3 separate regions of the Homo sapiens genome follow, and regions 2 and 3 are each linked to region 1. Evidence: promoter capture Hi-C in human tissues and cell types (Jung and others, 2019). All regions are on one chromosome and are shown on one strand. The core of a region is centred on a gene start or on the middle of the fragment in contact, and the rest is flanking DNA. Distances in the headings are between cores, read along the strand shown.

The links. Contacts are between HindIII fragments. The study calls those that stand out against the background at their distance.
Region 2: the fragment with the promoter of AGO2 here is called in contact with the fragment with the promoter of KCNK9 in region 1 in 1 of the 25 tissues and cell types used here (stomach).
Region 3: a fragment that was not itself captured here is called in contact with the fragment with the promoter of KCNK9 in region 1 in 2 of the 25 tissues and cell types used here (dorsolateral prefrontal cortex and mesenchymal stem cells).

What each region holds. Positions count from the first base shown.
Region 1 is chr8:139,700,337-139,705,268 of GRCh38, reverse strand. KCNK9 (potassium two pore domain channel subfamily K member 9) reads left to right here and starts at 2,146. Exons shown (of 2, transcript NM_001282534.2): 1 at 2,146-2,559. The coding sequence starts at 2,277. RefSeq lists a silencer at 2,129-2,423. The HindIII fragment of the contact is 18,854 bases long and covers 1-4,932 here.
Region 2 is chr8:140,632,664-140,637,595 of GRCh38, reverse strand. AGO2 (argonaute RISC catalytic component 2) reads left to right here and starts at 1,963. Exons shown (of 19, transcript NM_012154.5): 1 at 1,963-2,111. The coding sequence starts at 2,090. ERICD (E2F1-regulated inhibitor of cell death) reads right to left here and starts at 3,361. Exons shown (of 1, transcript NR_170171.1): 1 at 1-3,361. RefSeq lists silencers at 1,399-1,798, 2,449-2,618, 3,102-3,151 and enhancers at 2,958-3,724, 3,725-4,492. The HindIII fragment of the contact is 25,430 bases long and covers 1-3,545 here.
Region 3 is chr8:138,836,778-138,841,709 of GRCh38, reverse strand. All of the region lies in intron 4 of COL22A1 (collagen type XXII alpha 1 chain), which reads left to right. Among named protein-coding and RNA genes, the nearest start is that of COL22A1, 75 kb to the left of the region's middle. The HindIII fragment of the contact is 6,501 bases long and covers 1-4,932 here.

The sequences.
Region 1 (4,932 bases), core at 897-3,396:
ATTCAGGAAGCCGAAGGTCAAGGAAAAGCCCCTCGATAGCCTAAAGGGAGAGGGCGGGGAGGGGGAGGAGGTAAAGGAGGCCAAAATGGGAAGGAGATAAAGCCTGGAGAGGGCTCATCTGGAAGCAGGGAATAGGTGCGCCCCAGCCCGAGCCTCGTGTTCCTACCCCAGGTGGTCTCGAGGGGGCTATCGCGTGGCTCAGGGCTGCATCCACGGCGCACCTTGCGCCCAGCTGTGGGGAACCAAAGAGTGATTATATATATCAAAGAGTGATTATATATATATATATATATATATATATGTGTGTGTGTGTGTGTGTGTGTGTGTGTGTGTGTGTGTGTGTGTATTTTTTTTTTTTCCTTCAGTAAAGCAACAGAGAGGTTACTGGGTCGGGGGATTGCGATGTCTTTCCCCGCTGTCCTGACTCCAAAAGTGGCGGCCCATGCTGTCCTTAGCGCTCTCCAGGGAAACGACTCGGGTCTGCAGGTGCTGGCCCAAGCGGGCTGTGCCGCTGGGAGGCGAGGGGGCCGAGGCAGCCCTCGGGACCCCACCACTCCACGAGGCCATGTCCCTGGCCAATGACACGCTCCCGCGCCGGGTGGCTAGGTGGGGGGTGGGGGGTGGGGAAGACTTCGTGAACCGCTGCTGCCGCTCTCCTGTGTGCCCATGGCCCCCTCCCCTTCTGCTCCCCACTCTCTGCCCAATCTGCCTGAAGCTGTCAGCCTGCCATCTCTGGCTGAATCCCGTTTTCCTCCTCCAACCCCGAGTCCCTCAAACTCTCCACCCGCCAGGGCTGCTTGCGCTCTTGGGGAGCGGGGCTAGAAGGACCCAAGAAGCCGCGTTTATCCTCCCATCCCCCGCCAAAACCCGCCGGCGGCTCCGCCCCCGCCCCCTCCCTGGCGGCTCAGGCCGCCCCTCCCGGGCTCCCTCCGCGTGCGCCCTGCGCCGCGCTGGGTCTGCAGCGGGAGCTGCCACAGCAGCCTCGCCAGCTGGCTGGGGACCAGGCGGGAGGTGGCGCGCCCTGGAGGCTGCGGGAGGGAGGGAGGGAGGGAGGCCCGGCCTCGGCGTAGCCCGGCCCCCGCTCCCCGAGGCCCTCCCGCCGGAGCGGGGCTGCCAAGCGCACACACACACACACACACACACGCACATACACACGCGCACACACACATTCGGGCTCCCAACGGCGCGCACGCACGTAGCGCCCGGGGCAGACCAGCGCGGCGGCCGCCTCCCGGGACGCCCGGACGCCGGAGGGCCCCGACCCCCGCGCGGCTCATGCGCCCGCGTCCGCCCCGCTGCTCCGCGAGGCCCGCGGGACCCCTCCCGCCGCCGCCGCCGCGCCCGCCGCCCCCGGAGGAGCGGGCTGGCCGACCGCCACCGCGCCGTCCCCCGGCCGCCCCCGAAGCCGCTCCATCGCGGTCCCTGCCGTCCTGGGGCCGCGCCCCGCTCCCGCGCCTTGGGGGTTGAGCCGAGCAAACTTCGCGCACCGGCCGACGCCCGGCGGGGACCCCGCTGCGCACCCGCGCGCCCGGGTGGGCGCTGGGCGCGCGGACCTTTGGGGAGCGGGCTGCCCCTCCCGCTGCACCTGCTCGGCCCCCTCCCCGCTTGCAGGGGACTCCAGAGACACCGCCACTTCGCAAACTTTTCCTCCCCACCACCGAGAGGGGGCGAGGAGGGGTAAAAGGGGAAGCAGGTTCCGCTGGGCGCGCGGACCTGCAGGCTCCTTGCTGGGCACCGCCACCCGCGAGCTGGACCCACAGGGGTACCGGGCCCCGCGGCCGCCCTCCGGCCGCTTTCTGGCTCCGGTTCCCGTCCCTGCGTTTCCCGCGGGAGCGGGGGGCGGGGTGCGGAGGGCAGCAAGGCCCGCGCGGTACCCAGCGGGGCCGCCCTGCATGGCCCTGCGCAGTGGGGCGGGCTGCTTCGGCCGGGTCTGGCGCAGGGTGTCGGGGTTCCCGGACGCCTGGCCCCGGCGCTCGAGCAGCCTCCTGTGCCTGTCCGCCTTCTCGGCTGAGCCCGGGCCCGCGCCGCCCCTGCCCCGCCAGCCGCCTCGCGGTGGCGGTGGCTGTGGCGGCCCCAGCGGAGGGGGCCCCCCCCAGCCTCCCCGCCCCCCGCCTCCCCGCTGCTGCTGCTGCTGCTGCCGCCGCCGCTTACAACTTGGAGGCGGCGGCGGCGGCGGCGGAGGAGGAGGCGGCGGCGGCCGCCGGGCGCTGCAGTGGGACGCGCGCGGCTGTGAGCCTGCGGGACATGCCCCCCGCGCCGGCTCCTTGCTGGCGGCCATGAAGAGGCAGAACGTGCGGACTCTGTCCCTCATCGTCTGCACCTTCACCTACCTGCTGGTGGGCGCCGCCGTGTTCGACGCCCTCGAGTCGGACCACGAGATGCGCGAGGAGGAGAAACTCAAAGCCGAGGAGATCCGGATCAAGGGGAAGTACAACATCAGCAGCGAGGACTACCGGCAGCTGGAGCTGGTGATCCTGCAGTCGGAACCGCACCGCGCCGGCGTCCAGTGGAAATTCGCCGGCTCCTTCTACTTTGCGATCACGGTCATCACCACCATAGGTAAGGGCTGGGCGCGCCGCTGGGCTCCCGCGCCCCGGGAGGAGTCCGGGGAGGCGGCTGAGCGCGCCGCGCCGGGCTGGGTGCAGGGCGTCGAGGGTTAAACGCAGCCTCCCTTGGGGGCCTTCCCGCAGCGCCCCCTCCTCTCTAGGGAGCCCCCCCTCCGCGGCGCCTCCGAGCCTCACCCTTCGGGGACCCCACCCGGTGCTCTCCACCGCGCTGGTGTCTGGGCCGGGCGTGCGAGCCCCGAGCGAGTGTGCCTGAGCCGGGAGGGCGGAGGCGCCACTTTTGCGAAGAGAGTGGAGCGCTAAGAATAATCCCATAGCAGACACCCACCCACCCACCGCCCCGGCGCGGGCTGGGCTGCGCGGGGCTCTGAGCCTTACACTTACTACCTCTCTGGGAGTTGGAGAGGGCTGGCCTGGCACCCATGGCTCCTAGAGGGACTCAGGTGGCAGGGGAGTGCGCCTGGGGCGTGAGAGGCACTGACCCTCCGTAGCCCCTGGGCCCCGCTCCAGGCTTCTCTGAGCTCAGATTTCATCTCTCTTCCCCCCGCCCGGCTCCTTTTTTCCCCTGAGTTCCAGTTCTGGAGCTTGGACTTCCCAGGCCCCTGGGAGGAGAGAGTTTGCTCTCTGGTGCTTGCGTTGGGGGTGGCAGCCCCTCAATTGCTCTCAGTAGAGGTGGAGAGTGGGGGCAGGGCAGAACCTGCCCACTCCCTAGGCTGTGACACTGGGAAAGGCCAGTCTAGACATTGCCCAGAAACCAGGGAACTTGAGCCCCAGTCACGAGAGGGGGTCCAGCTGGTAAACTGCAGGGATGCCCGCCAGCCCCACTGCCAAGGGCGCTATTCACAGAGCAGGGTCTCTGGTCGGTCCCGAGGGCAGTGTCCCCTCTAAGGCTGGGGGCTGGGAGGACTCCCGGACGTTATACTTGGAGACCTGTGGGAGCTGGGGCAGGTACCTTCATTCGGGTGGACGTGGTGGATACCCTGCATGGCAGGAGGCAGGGTGGTGTCTCTGTGGTTCACTTGCCCCAGTGAGGCAGGCTGCCTCTCTAGGGCCATCTCCTTGGACTTGCCAAGGCCAGTGTGTTAGTGGGGGTGGTCTGTTTCCTGCACCCCTCAGGGCTTCACACCCCTGTGCCCTGGGCAGGGACCTCCTCCTTCCCCCCTCCCTTCTTCCCAGCTCCTCCTGTCTCGCTTCTCTGGACCTCCTCCTCTAATTTCCCTCTTGATATTTTTCTTTGTCTGGAAATCTCTGCATACTGAAAAAAAAAGGATTTCTCAGTGCCATATGCAACAGGAAGCGCCAGCACAGGACGGCCTGTCTTTCCTTCTTGGTTGAAAATACTTTTTAGAGAGTCATCTTGTTTTAAATGTTTAATTCATTGGTGCAGGTTTTTCTGTTTGTGAAGGAAATTGTCCTTCTGTTATCTACATAATCAGCTTGGCTCTTGCTTGCCCCACGCCCTTTGCCCAGCACCCCAAACACAGATGACTCCTTCCCTTCCCACACTGTGTTTCCAGCTTCTGAGAGGGCCAGTCATTGCCATTTTCTCTGGCTTTAAACTGTGGCAGTGGCACGCAGATGCACAGGGCAGTGATTCTGGGAGACAGGGGCCTGTTTGCTGGAGAGCTGGAGAGTAAGAAATATGCCTCTGAAACTGGCCACCCCTGGGGAAAGGAGAAAGCCCCAAGGCCCTTAAACATGCCTTTAGGGTTGAAGATGGAAGACAGGTGAATTTGGCTAGCATGCTGGCTTCCAGTAGTAAAACAGGCACATAAAATGCTTGGCTGATCCCGAGAGTTGAGCGACAACATCGAGGAGAGGATTGGTGTTAAAAGCAAACTCTGAAATGTGCCAGTTTTCCTTAAGAAATGCATTGTGGAGACTGATGAAGTTCTTACTGAGGTGTGTTTCCATGGTTGATTCTGATTGGTAGCTCTGGGTGTATGCCTGTAACGGTTAAAACTCCAAAGAGAAGCTGTCAAGGGAAGTGTAGCTAAATGGAGGGTGTCGGCTTCGCCTCAGGGGCTGTGGGACTTGTATGAATAAGGGACCAGAGGCCATCTGAGGAATTCGCTGATTTTCCTCGCTTCCTTCTTTGGGCTTTCCACTGATTTTCTGGAAAGAAAGGTTGGGAAAAAAATGTGTGTGTGTGTGTGTGTGCGCGCGTGTGTGTGTGTGTGTGTGCGCGCGCGCGCGTGTGTGTGTGTGTGTGTGTGTGTATGTGTATGTGAATAAAAGACAGCTCTAACACTAACACAGCTGTCCTGTTGTGGAAAGATGTTCAACTTGGAACCCACAGACCTGGCTTGGAATCTGAATTCGGCCATAGTGTAAAGACCAGAGAGAGGTCATTTCCCAACTCCTGACC
Region 2 (4,932 bases), core at 714-3,213, 930 kb before region 1:
GGATAGAGATGGGGCAGGCAGCAATGGCACCCCTCCGCCAGCAGAGGGCCACGGTGTCCGCCATCCAAAGAGAAGTGACACAATGAAGCCCTCAGAGACATTATCTTGCCTTCTGGAACGAAATCCTTGCAACAAAGTTCCCCAACACAGCGCTCAAAGGAGCTGAAGGCGGGCTGAGGGCAGCCAGTGATGACAGAGCCTTCTGGGCCTTTGCTGAGGCGTGCAGTCGCTGACAGCAGGGCAGTTGGGCCTCAGGGATTTCGGGCCAAAACGAGTTTTGGGGATATGTGAAGGAGACAGGGGCAGAGAGAGAGGGTGGGCATCTGCGAACTGGGAAGATTGATGAGGTTGCATGGTTCATAAATAGGAAAGTGGTAACATTCATGATTATTTAAAAATTTCCGTGAAATACTACAGTAAAGGTACAGAAAAGCATATAAAGTAAAAGTGCAGTTTAAGGGATGGCTGCCAAAGGGCACCATTGCAGGAAGGAACAGGCCTGGCACCCCCAAATCCCCCAGGGGCCCTGCTGTGGTCACAGCCCTCTCACCCCCAGCTGTATCCACCATTCTGACACTTAGAGTAAGCACCTTCTTGCCCTTCTGTCAATTATTTACTACTTAATGATGCTTCCCTAAAGAATGCAGTTTAATTTTGCCTGTTTTGGAATTTTTGTGAATGGCTAGATTCCATCCTGTGAATATGAGCACACTGTTTCTCCATCCTGCTCTCCGTGGGTATTCAGTGCCATGCAGTCCAAGCGGTGATGAAGAATGCCATGCACACTCCTACCCAGGTTTCCTGGTGTTCATTACTACACATTTCAGGAGCACGTTTTGTATCGGCAACTTGGTGAAGACTGATGTCCTTTTGAGTTTTCGGAGGAAGTGCTGGTTCTCCTGCCCTTCTTCAGGGCTGTCCTCCGAGACTGCAGAGAACTAGTGACCACCCTGCTGGCTGCGGAGCTCCTGTCAGTCAGAACTCCTGTTTATTCTCCGCCCGGAACAGGGCCTTGCACCCATATGCAGACAGCCGATGCCACGGGGTGAAGGAATGCTCCGGGAAATCTGGGAAAAGGCGACCAGGCACTTTAGATTGTGGGTCAACCTCTGCCTTCTAATCCTCCATCACTTAGGGGAGAAAGGAGGTAGCCACAGGCTGGCTTTTCCAGGAAAGCCTCCGAAAACCAGACGGACCCAGAGGGACCGGACAGAAACGCTCGGAGGTGCACGACGGTCCGAGCAGGCCCCTGACTGCTGGAATGGGCGTGTCCGCTGATCTGATCCCTGATACCAGCTACAGTTTACTAAAAACTTCTTAGATTTTCTCAGTGCTTTAAACGGATTATCTGGGTTCTGGGGCCGCGCCGGGAGGTGGCGGTGTGGTCCTGCGCGAGCGGCCGGCCGCGTTCAAGTTCAAGCTCCGGGCTGGGAGGGAGCTTCCCGACCTCCGTGTTTCTGTAGTAACTTAAAGAGCCAGGCTGGGGGCCGAGGGGCTGAGGGTGGGAGGGTTCTGCGCCCCCCACCGGGGGGCGGCGGGGAAAGCGGGGGCGCGTGGCCTCCCCTCCGGCTCCGGCGGCACAGCCGGGGGGCCCGGCTCCTCCCCGTCGGGAAGACGCGGCTTCTCTGGGTGGCAGTGAAGGGTCCCCGGGGCCGCGCCCGCCCCCGCGCCACACGGGCCGCGCCGCCCTCGGCCCTCGTCCCCGCTCCCGCCCGCGGTTCCCACCGCCCGGCGAGGTCTCCGGGCCCCTCCCCGGGTCCCCGCCCCAGGCCCCGCCAGACCCGGCGCCGCCGCCGCCGCCGCCGCGGACCCCGCCCGCGCGCCCAGCCCCGCTCCCCCCGCGAGCGCGCTCCCGCCGCCGGCCTCGCCTCCCCTCCCCCTCCCTCCTCCTTCCTCCCCCGCCCCTCCCGCTCCCGCTCCCGCCGCCGCCTCCGCCCGCCGCCCCGGCCGCGTCGGGTAAACCTGTTTGGCGAGGCGGCCGCGCCGGGGCGGATCGTGCGGCCGGCGGCTCCCTCGCGGCTCGCGGCGTCGGGGCCCGTGGCGCGCGCGCGGCCGCCCCTCGGCCCCGGAGCCCCTCGGCGGCGCCACCATGTACTCGGGAGCCGGCCCCGGTGAGTCCTGGCGCTCGGGGCGCCCGCCCGGCCGTTCGCGCGCTCCTGCCCGTGGTTGGCGGGCCCGGCGCGGGCGGCAGGGGCCGGGGATCGGGGGGCCGCGGGGTCGGGGCGGCGGGGGCCGGGGGCGGGCGAGCCGGGGCCGCGCTTGGGGGCTCGAGGAGCGGCGGCGGCGGGGCCGAGCCGGCCGTTTTCTCGGCCCCGCGTTGGACGCGCAGCCCCGGCCTCCTCGGCCCCCGCGAGTCGTCGGGGCGCCCCGCGCGGCCTGGGCCCCTCCCGCGCCTCGGGCCCGCGTCCCAGCGTCCTCGCATCCCCCGCCCGGGGCCCGCGGGCTGGGGCCGGGGCCGAGGCGGCCGCCGCGTGTAGGCCCGAGGCCCGGAGCGCCCCGCTTGGCCCGGCCTCGCTGCCCGGGCGGGGATGGGGGCGCCGCAGCCCGGCCCGGCCTGACCCTGAGCGCCTGAGCGGGTGGAGGCCGGGTCGGGGCGCCCGGCTCGGGGCGCGCACGGGCGGGAGGGGAGGGGGCTGCGCCGGTCCCGACCCCAGCCGCGGTGAGTCTGTGGCGCGCTCCGTTGTGGCCCTTCTTGTTGCCGGCACTTCTTCGGCCCCTTTTCCCAAGGAAAGTCTGGAAATGCTGAATTTTGGCCAATTCCTGTAGTTAGGGCTGTCGCCTGGAAAGGGGAGGACGCGGCTCCCCGGAACCCTCAAACTGCGTGCGCGGCTCGTTCTCATTCCAGACACGCCGGCCTCCCCATTCAAGTGCTAATTCCTTTTACAATTTCCTAGGAGAGGTGAGGCGAGGTGGATTCCTGTAGCACCCCTTGTTGCTAGTCGGCCTTTCTCTGGAAAAGTTCTAAAAAACTTAAAGCGGTAACGCGTTGTTTTTCTTTTTAAATGCAGAGTAGAAGGCGGTCTCCTTGGTGGGCCAAAAAAACGGTCAGGTGTTCTCCTGCTTTTGGCGTGCTCCCACCGGGCACGTGGCTCCTGGCTCTCTCGGCCGGCCTGGCCGCTGGGACGGGGCACCGCCTGCTCCCCTTTGTCCGCTGGGCCCCAGCCGGGCCGCAGGCGGCGCAGGCCCCGCCGGGCTCTGGGCTTATGTTTACCCGGCCGGGCGAGGAGGCTCGCATTCCCGATGCTGCCCTCGTTGCTGCAGACCGGCCCCAAATTGTGGGGTCCGGAAGGCCCCCTGGCCCACCTTGGTCCGTTGATGGTGGCCCCCACTGCTGGAGCTGTTGGCTCTGTGCCTTGCGAATGTCGCGTCTTTTTTCTGATGTCATTTAGAAAGCTTCAACAAGGCGGAGTCTGACCAACTTTTCAACCCCTGAGGGCCATCAGCAGTTTGAAGAATGATTTTCCCCCTCCACCTGGGAGGGGCCGCAGTCCTGGAGCAGGTGCTGGCCTCTAGAGGCCTTGGGTGGCCAGGCCCCCTCTTGGGAAAGGACCGGGCATCCCCTTGTGAGTTGGGACCTTCCAGCTCCTCTTTGTAGAGGAACCCAGCTTATGGGACTGACAGCACTACATTTTTTCAGGTTATCGGTTTTAAAAGTTGGAGGCCCAGAAAAAGTGAAGAGGCTTTAAGGAAGGTCAAGCTTTCTGTGTTGTGTTTTGCGTGTTACTTAATTCACTCCACTTGCTGAGGTTGGTGGTGTTTGTGAAGACAGACAGCCGAGGCTCACAGAGGTTGAGAACTTCACCAAGGTCACACAGCAGTGAGTGAGTATCAGGACAATCGGTCCGACTTCCGAGCTGGTTCTCTGGGTGCCTTCCTCAGGGCAGTCCCTTTCAAGCCCTATAACCCAGACCCACAGTAAGAAGTCTCTGTTAGGGCTGGACTGGACCAGCACCTGCCCGCATACTTGTCATTGACAGCGGGGCTTCAGGAAGCCACCCCAGCTCACTGCTGTACTGTGTGCACTGCCCCGGGATGCTGTCTTGTCGATTTCATTTTTCAGCGTACCTTGGCCCTCATGATCCACAGGCTCGTTTCTGTCACTCGCTGCTTTTTGGAGATTGTTGCCTTGGTGTGGGCCTGGTAGGGAGTGGACCCTCTGGAACAGGACAGTGGTTGAAAGAATAAATGTGTCTGCAGGATAATTCATAGCTAATGGCAGGATGGGAATGAACCCAAGTTTCAGGTTGTACAAACGTGCTGTAATTATAAGTCTGTGGTGCAGTTCCATTTTATGCTACACATTAAGGCTTTTAATTTTGTGTAAAAGGAATTTTTGGAATAGTCTTCATTGAGACTCTTTTTAATCTTATACTTTCTAATTTAGAATTATAAGACATTCAATTTGAATTATAGAAAAATTACATTGGGAGGCCAAGGCGGGCGGATCACGAGGTCAAGAGATCGAGACCATCCTGGCCAACATCATGAAACCCCGTCTCTACTAAAAATACAAAAATTAGCTGGGCGTGGTGGTGCACGCCTGTAGTCCCAGCTACTCGGGAGGCTGAGGCAGGAGAATCGCTTGAACCCTTGAGGCAGAGGTTGCAGTGAGCCAAGATTGCGCCACTGCACTCCAGCCTGGGGACAGAGTGAGACTTGGAGACTCCATCTCAAGAAAAAAAAAAAAAAGAAAAGAAAAATTACAAATAGTTTTGCTACTTCCAATTGTAACACCCTTATTAGGCAACTTACTAATTTAAAAAGCAGTTCACAATAGCTCTACATTATACCAATCACAAACAAATGCTGTGACGTATGTGAATGCTATTTAGAATCTGAAGTTAGAAATGTTACTATTTTTTCGTTTTTTGAACTGAGTTAGTTGTTTAAGATGGGTGGATTCTCCAATGACCTTGAACCTTCACTGATGAA
Region 3 (4,932 bases), core at 946-3,445, 860 kb after region 1:
CCAGCACTGCCCTCTTCCCTCCTCTTCGTCAAGGGCTGTCTTTCTAAAACCTGGATTCCTTGGCTCCTAGAATCTAGTCCATGCTTCCTACTCTGCAGAAGAGGTTCTGACTCTTCTGTCCTAGCTTACTCATGAATCTATTGGAATGCTTGCTAGCCCCCAAAGATGCAGTACTCCCCTTAGCTGATGGTATTACCTCTGTGTGGTGTGTCCATCCCCAACTTATTCTCACAGTGAGCTCCTATTCATCCCCCAAAGCCCAACTCAACAGTCACCTCCAGGAAACTGCTTGAAGCCCCACAGGGCAATTAGTTGCTCTTTTAACATTTTATTCTATTCTGAGAACTCCAATCTGAAGGCATTATAATGATTTGCGTCCCTGTCTACCTCCCCAGCAAGCATATGAGCTGTTTGAGAGCAGGACTTGTTTATACTTGGGCTTTATTCTTTGTGTCTTAAGAGTAGAGGACCGTACCTGACACTTAGAAGGAATGTGACAAATGTTTGTGAAATGAATGGATGGATATATGAATGAATTAGTGAAAATAAGAAACATTAATCAAAGGATGAAAACATGAATGGTTGGATGGGAGGCTGGATGGAGGGATGGACAAAATGATGGATGGAAGAAGGAAGAAAGGAAAGGAGGGAGAAAGAAGAATGGAAGGAAGGAAGGCAGACAGACAAATGAACAAACAAACCTGCCTGCATCATCTGTAACTCAGCATGAATTTAAAGCTTTTCTTGTCATTCTGTAGGCTGAAGAATAGCAATTATTTTCTACTTAAGAATAATTCTGGCTGGGTGCAGTGGCTCACGCCTGTGATACTAGAGCTTTGGGAAGCCAAGGCAGGTGAATTGCTTAAGCTCAGGAGTTCAAGACCAGCCTGGGCAACATAGTGAAACCCCATCTCTACAAAAAATACACACAAAAAAATCAGCCAACTATGGTGGTGCGTGCCCCATCTCTACCAAAAAATACCCATGAAAAGATTAGCCAAAGCTGAGGTGGGTGGTTCGCTTAAGCCCAGGAGGAAGAGGTTGCAGTGAGCTGAGATCACGCCACTGCACTCCAGCCTGGGTGACAGAGCAAGACCTTTTCTTAATAATAATAATAATAACTGATTCTTGCTGGGAAGATTCAGGAGCGCGTGTGTGTGTGTGTGTGTGTGTGTACTCACACATGAAAATGCAGGACTTTGAACAGATTTCTTAGTCTACGACATATGTGGAGGATCCTTTCAAAGAGTCTGTTTGGTGACCGGGACCCTCTATTATGGGCCCTCCTGTGTCAGTCCACAGCCAGAGGAGTCCTGAAGCCTCCCCTCCCTCTTTGGAGTCTCCCTGGAAAAGAAATCACAATGTCAGCTGGGCATCCTTCAGTCTGAAGAGCAAATACTGTTTGTGCAGTTCTGAATGCACAGAGAACCTGCTTTATCTACCGTCTCCTCTAATTATAACCAGCCCCGAAAAACCGCTCCAGCCATGTTCAGGCTGAAGAGGGAGTTGTGGAGAGATGGAGCCTCAAATTTGCCAATTTAAATGCCATTGGGTAATAGGGACAGCTTCTGTATTCTGGAAAAAATGCAGTCCCCAAAAGCCTCACCTCCAGGCTTTCCCATAAATGACTCTGGCTATTTTTAGGGCATATCTGGGCTGGGTCTGGGAGCACGAGGATGAGAATAGACGCAGGAGATTGGAGGCATAGGTCTTAGATGGCCCTGCTGCTCACCAGCCAGCCAACCTTGGGTCAATCTTTTGACTTCTCTGAGCCTCAGTTTCCTCACCTATATAACAGTGGATCCTACAGAATGTCTTCAAGAGTCCCTCTCAGCTCTAAAAACCAAATGTTCTACAAATTCTAGCCAATAAAAGCGTTAGGCAACTTTTCTAGAAGTTTAGCTACTTAATGCTTAAAGCATATGTTAGGCATGTGCAGGTCTCAAATTTGGCCACAGACATCCTGGATGTCTCTCTCTTCCCACTTGGGCCCCCCATCCAGATAATCACCAAGTCCTGCCCATGATACCTTCTAAACCGCCCTCCAATTCAACTGCTTCTTCCATCCCTCCCTCCTCACCTGCCCTCATCTCACTCACCTCATCTCTGCCCTCCAGTTCCCAGCTGGAACTCTGTGTGGGAGCAGAGTGCCTTGGGCTGCGTTAAACATTGCAAATGCCCAGTGTGCATTGTACCTTTACCTACTCCTGGCTGGTCTTGCCCCTCCATGCCCTGCTGCCAGAATGACCTTGGAAAATAGAAACCAGATGGTATTTCTCCCTCACTTTAAAGCCCTCTGTGGCTCCTCATTGCCTGAAGAAAGAAACCCAAACTCGCCGATGGAGCCGACAAAAGCCCAGCCTGACCGGCACCAGCCCACCCTATTCCCAGCCAGTGTACCCTCGCCGTGGGTCCTGACATCCCACAGTAGCCCAGATGCTTGTTCATGATGGCAACCTGAGCAGCCCACGCAGCATCTAACACATAGGAGGCCCTTTATAGTGGGTCATGAATTCCTTCATTCTCTTCTTCTCTCCTTCCACAAATGACCCTCAAATGCTTGAATAGGAACAGCAAAAGCAGCAGGCATTTTAAGGATGGAGAAACAGATCAAATCATCCCTTTCCTGAAAGAGCTCTCCATCTACTGGAGGAGGCAGCCCCATAAACATAAGCTGCCTGCATCTTACCCAGACCCATGGAAACTCCAAGAGGAACTAAGGCAGCTAAGGGGGTGGGGGAGGGCAGCAGCAAAGTTCCATCCAGGTCGACCTTTGCTGGATGAGGTGAGGAGCACACAGTAGGTACCTGGCACAGCAGGTGCAGCCAGTGACCTGGGCCATCACTAAGGTCTTCTGACACCACGTGGTCCAGCGGCTTCCCTGGCTTCAGCGAGGTGCTCCCTCTATTTTTTGCATAAAACAATTGCTTTTTTTTTATCTCACAGTGCCTTGCATCACAGCCTGCTTTCCTCGGGAACATTTTTTATTCTCCTTCCCAGCCCTTATTTATTTTGGGCAATTTATCTTTTTTTTTTTTTGGTGCCCTTTGCTGCCACCTAGTTAATTCCTTGTTGTTCCAAGTTTTGTTGTATTCAACTCTTTGTTTTTGTTCACTGAAACCAATAAAAGTGGAACCAGAAAGTAGAGCATAGGCTTGCTTTTTGAAAACAAGTCTATTTCATATATTCTCTCCAATATGACTGCTGAAGGGAAAAGCAGATGAAGGTGTCCATTTTTAGTGGTGTTTGATGGTGCTGTGAAGTAGAGGATCGGCCCACTTTGCAGTTCCCGGCCCTGACTTTTCCCAGGGTAGGCACGTGTCCGCCCAGATTCTGGACCAGCTCTTAGGCTCTCCTCACTCCCCCTCATCCCTCAGTGAGTGTGTGAGGGGCTGCTGAGGCCACCTGTGAGCCTCCTCTGAGTAAGAGCCCTCACTCCCCATGAGCCTCCAGGGACCCCACCTCTGTGAGATTCCTCAGGTGGCCCTGAGAAGTGGCTGCCTATCCCCTTTGCACAGATGACAAATGGGGGCTTAAGGGGCTGAGAAATTGCCCCAAAGCCGTGGAACTGCTGAGTCTGAGAACAGGGACAGGAACCCAGGTGTGGCCGGCTGCGGTGCTCTCTTTCCCTCCACGCCACTGCTTCTGCTGCCTCAATTACACTGGCTGCTGCTTTTCTTCAGCAGCGACCCCCTCCCCCAGCTCCCACCTCAAGAACTCCCAGGTGCTGTCTGTGCCCCTCCTCAAGGTGACAACCCTGCAAGGCACGTCCTCACCCCTACATCACTGAGGAGGAGGCCACCAGGACACGTCCCACCTCTGGCCAGGGCTGGGCCAGGTTTTGAACCTAGAATGGGCTGGTCTCAAAACCTGTTCTCACCTATTCTGCCTTTCTCTGGGACAACATCTAATCCTAAGCAGACTGTACACTTTAGGCACCAGTTTCATGGAACCCTGGAACCGCAGGGCCCTCCAGGTCTTCATGGCCAAGCTCCCCCATTCAGAGGCACCAGCCCCTCCCACTGCTGGGGCTCCTCAGGCCCCAGGACACTTCCAGACACAGAGGCCCCAATACAGGGGCAGCCCGGTGGGTTGTCAAAGGCCCCTTGTTGTATGGGGCCCAGTCAGTTCCAACAGCTGCTCCTCACTGGGCCTGCCTGGGAGCCCAGAGCTGTGGGGACTCTCCATGCTTCTGTCCCCAGGCGATGCTGAGACTGCAGCCTCTGGGGCATTGAGGTCCTGTTCAGGTGGGCTGGGGGCTTTGTCAACAGCAGTGCAGGGGAGAGATGAGGGACAGGGAGTGCTCCCAGCATGCATTTGGTGAATGTCTCCCAATGTCTGGGTGACTGGCCTCGTCCAACTTGGGATCTCTCGGGGACTCCCCAGGACTCCCTCTCCGGTAGGTGTGGCGGCTGCTCCCAGTCATGCACTCTGGAGGCCTGGTCCTTATAACCAGAGTGAAAGAGGTGGGGCTCTGGGGTGGTGGCAGAGCTATTGCCAGGGGACCAAGCTTCACTTGGGTCAACAGGTTCCCACTGTGGTCCCCAGGCAGGGACAGTGGGGTTGACCGAGTAACTCCTGGGTGCTGGCTTCCCCCCAGGTATTTAATCCCATCATCACACTTAGGTCTCATGACACCCCTGCAATAAATCATTCTCTCCATTTTTCCAGTTACGGAAACAGGCTCAACAAAACCGGATAACTTCCTCACTGTCCCAGCTGGAACTCTGTGTGGGAGCAGAGTGCCTTGGGCTGCGTTAAACATAATAGATGCCCAGTGTGCATCGTACCTTTACCTGGGATTAACCCCATGGCTTTGAGTAGGAACAGCGGCTGTTCTGTTAACTCCCATCTCCCAGCATACTGAACGGAGGGATTCTTCACTGCGTACAATTGCACATTCAAATTAACTGTTATGTAAAAAATGCAGTT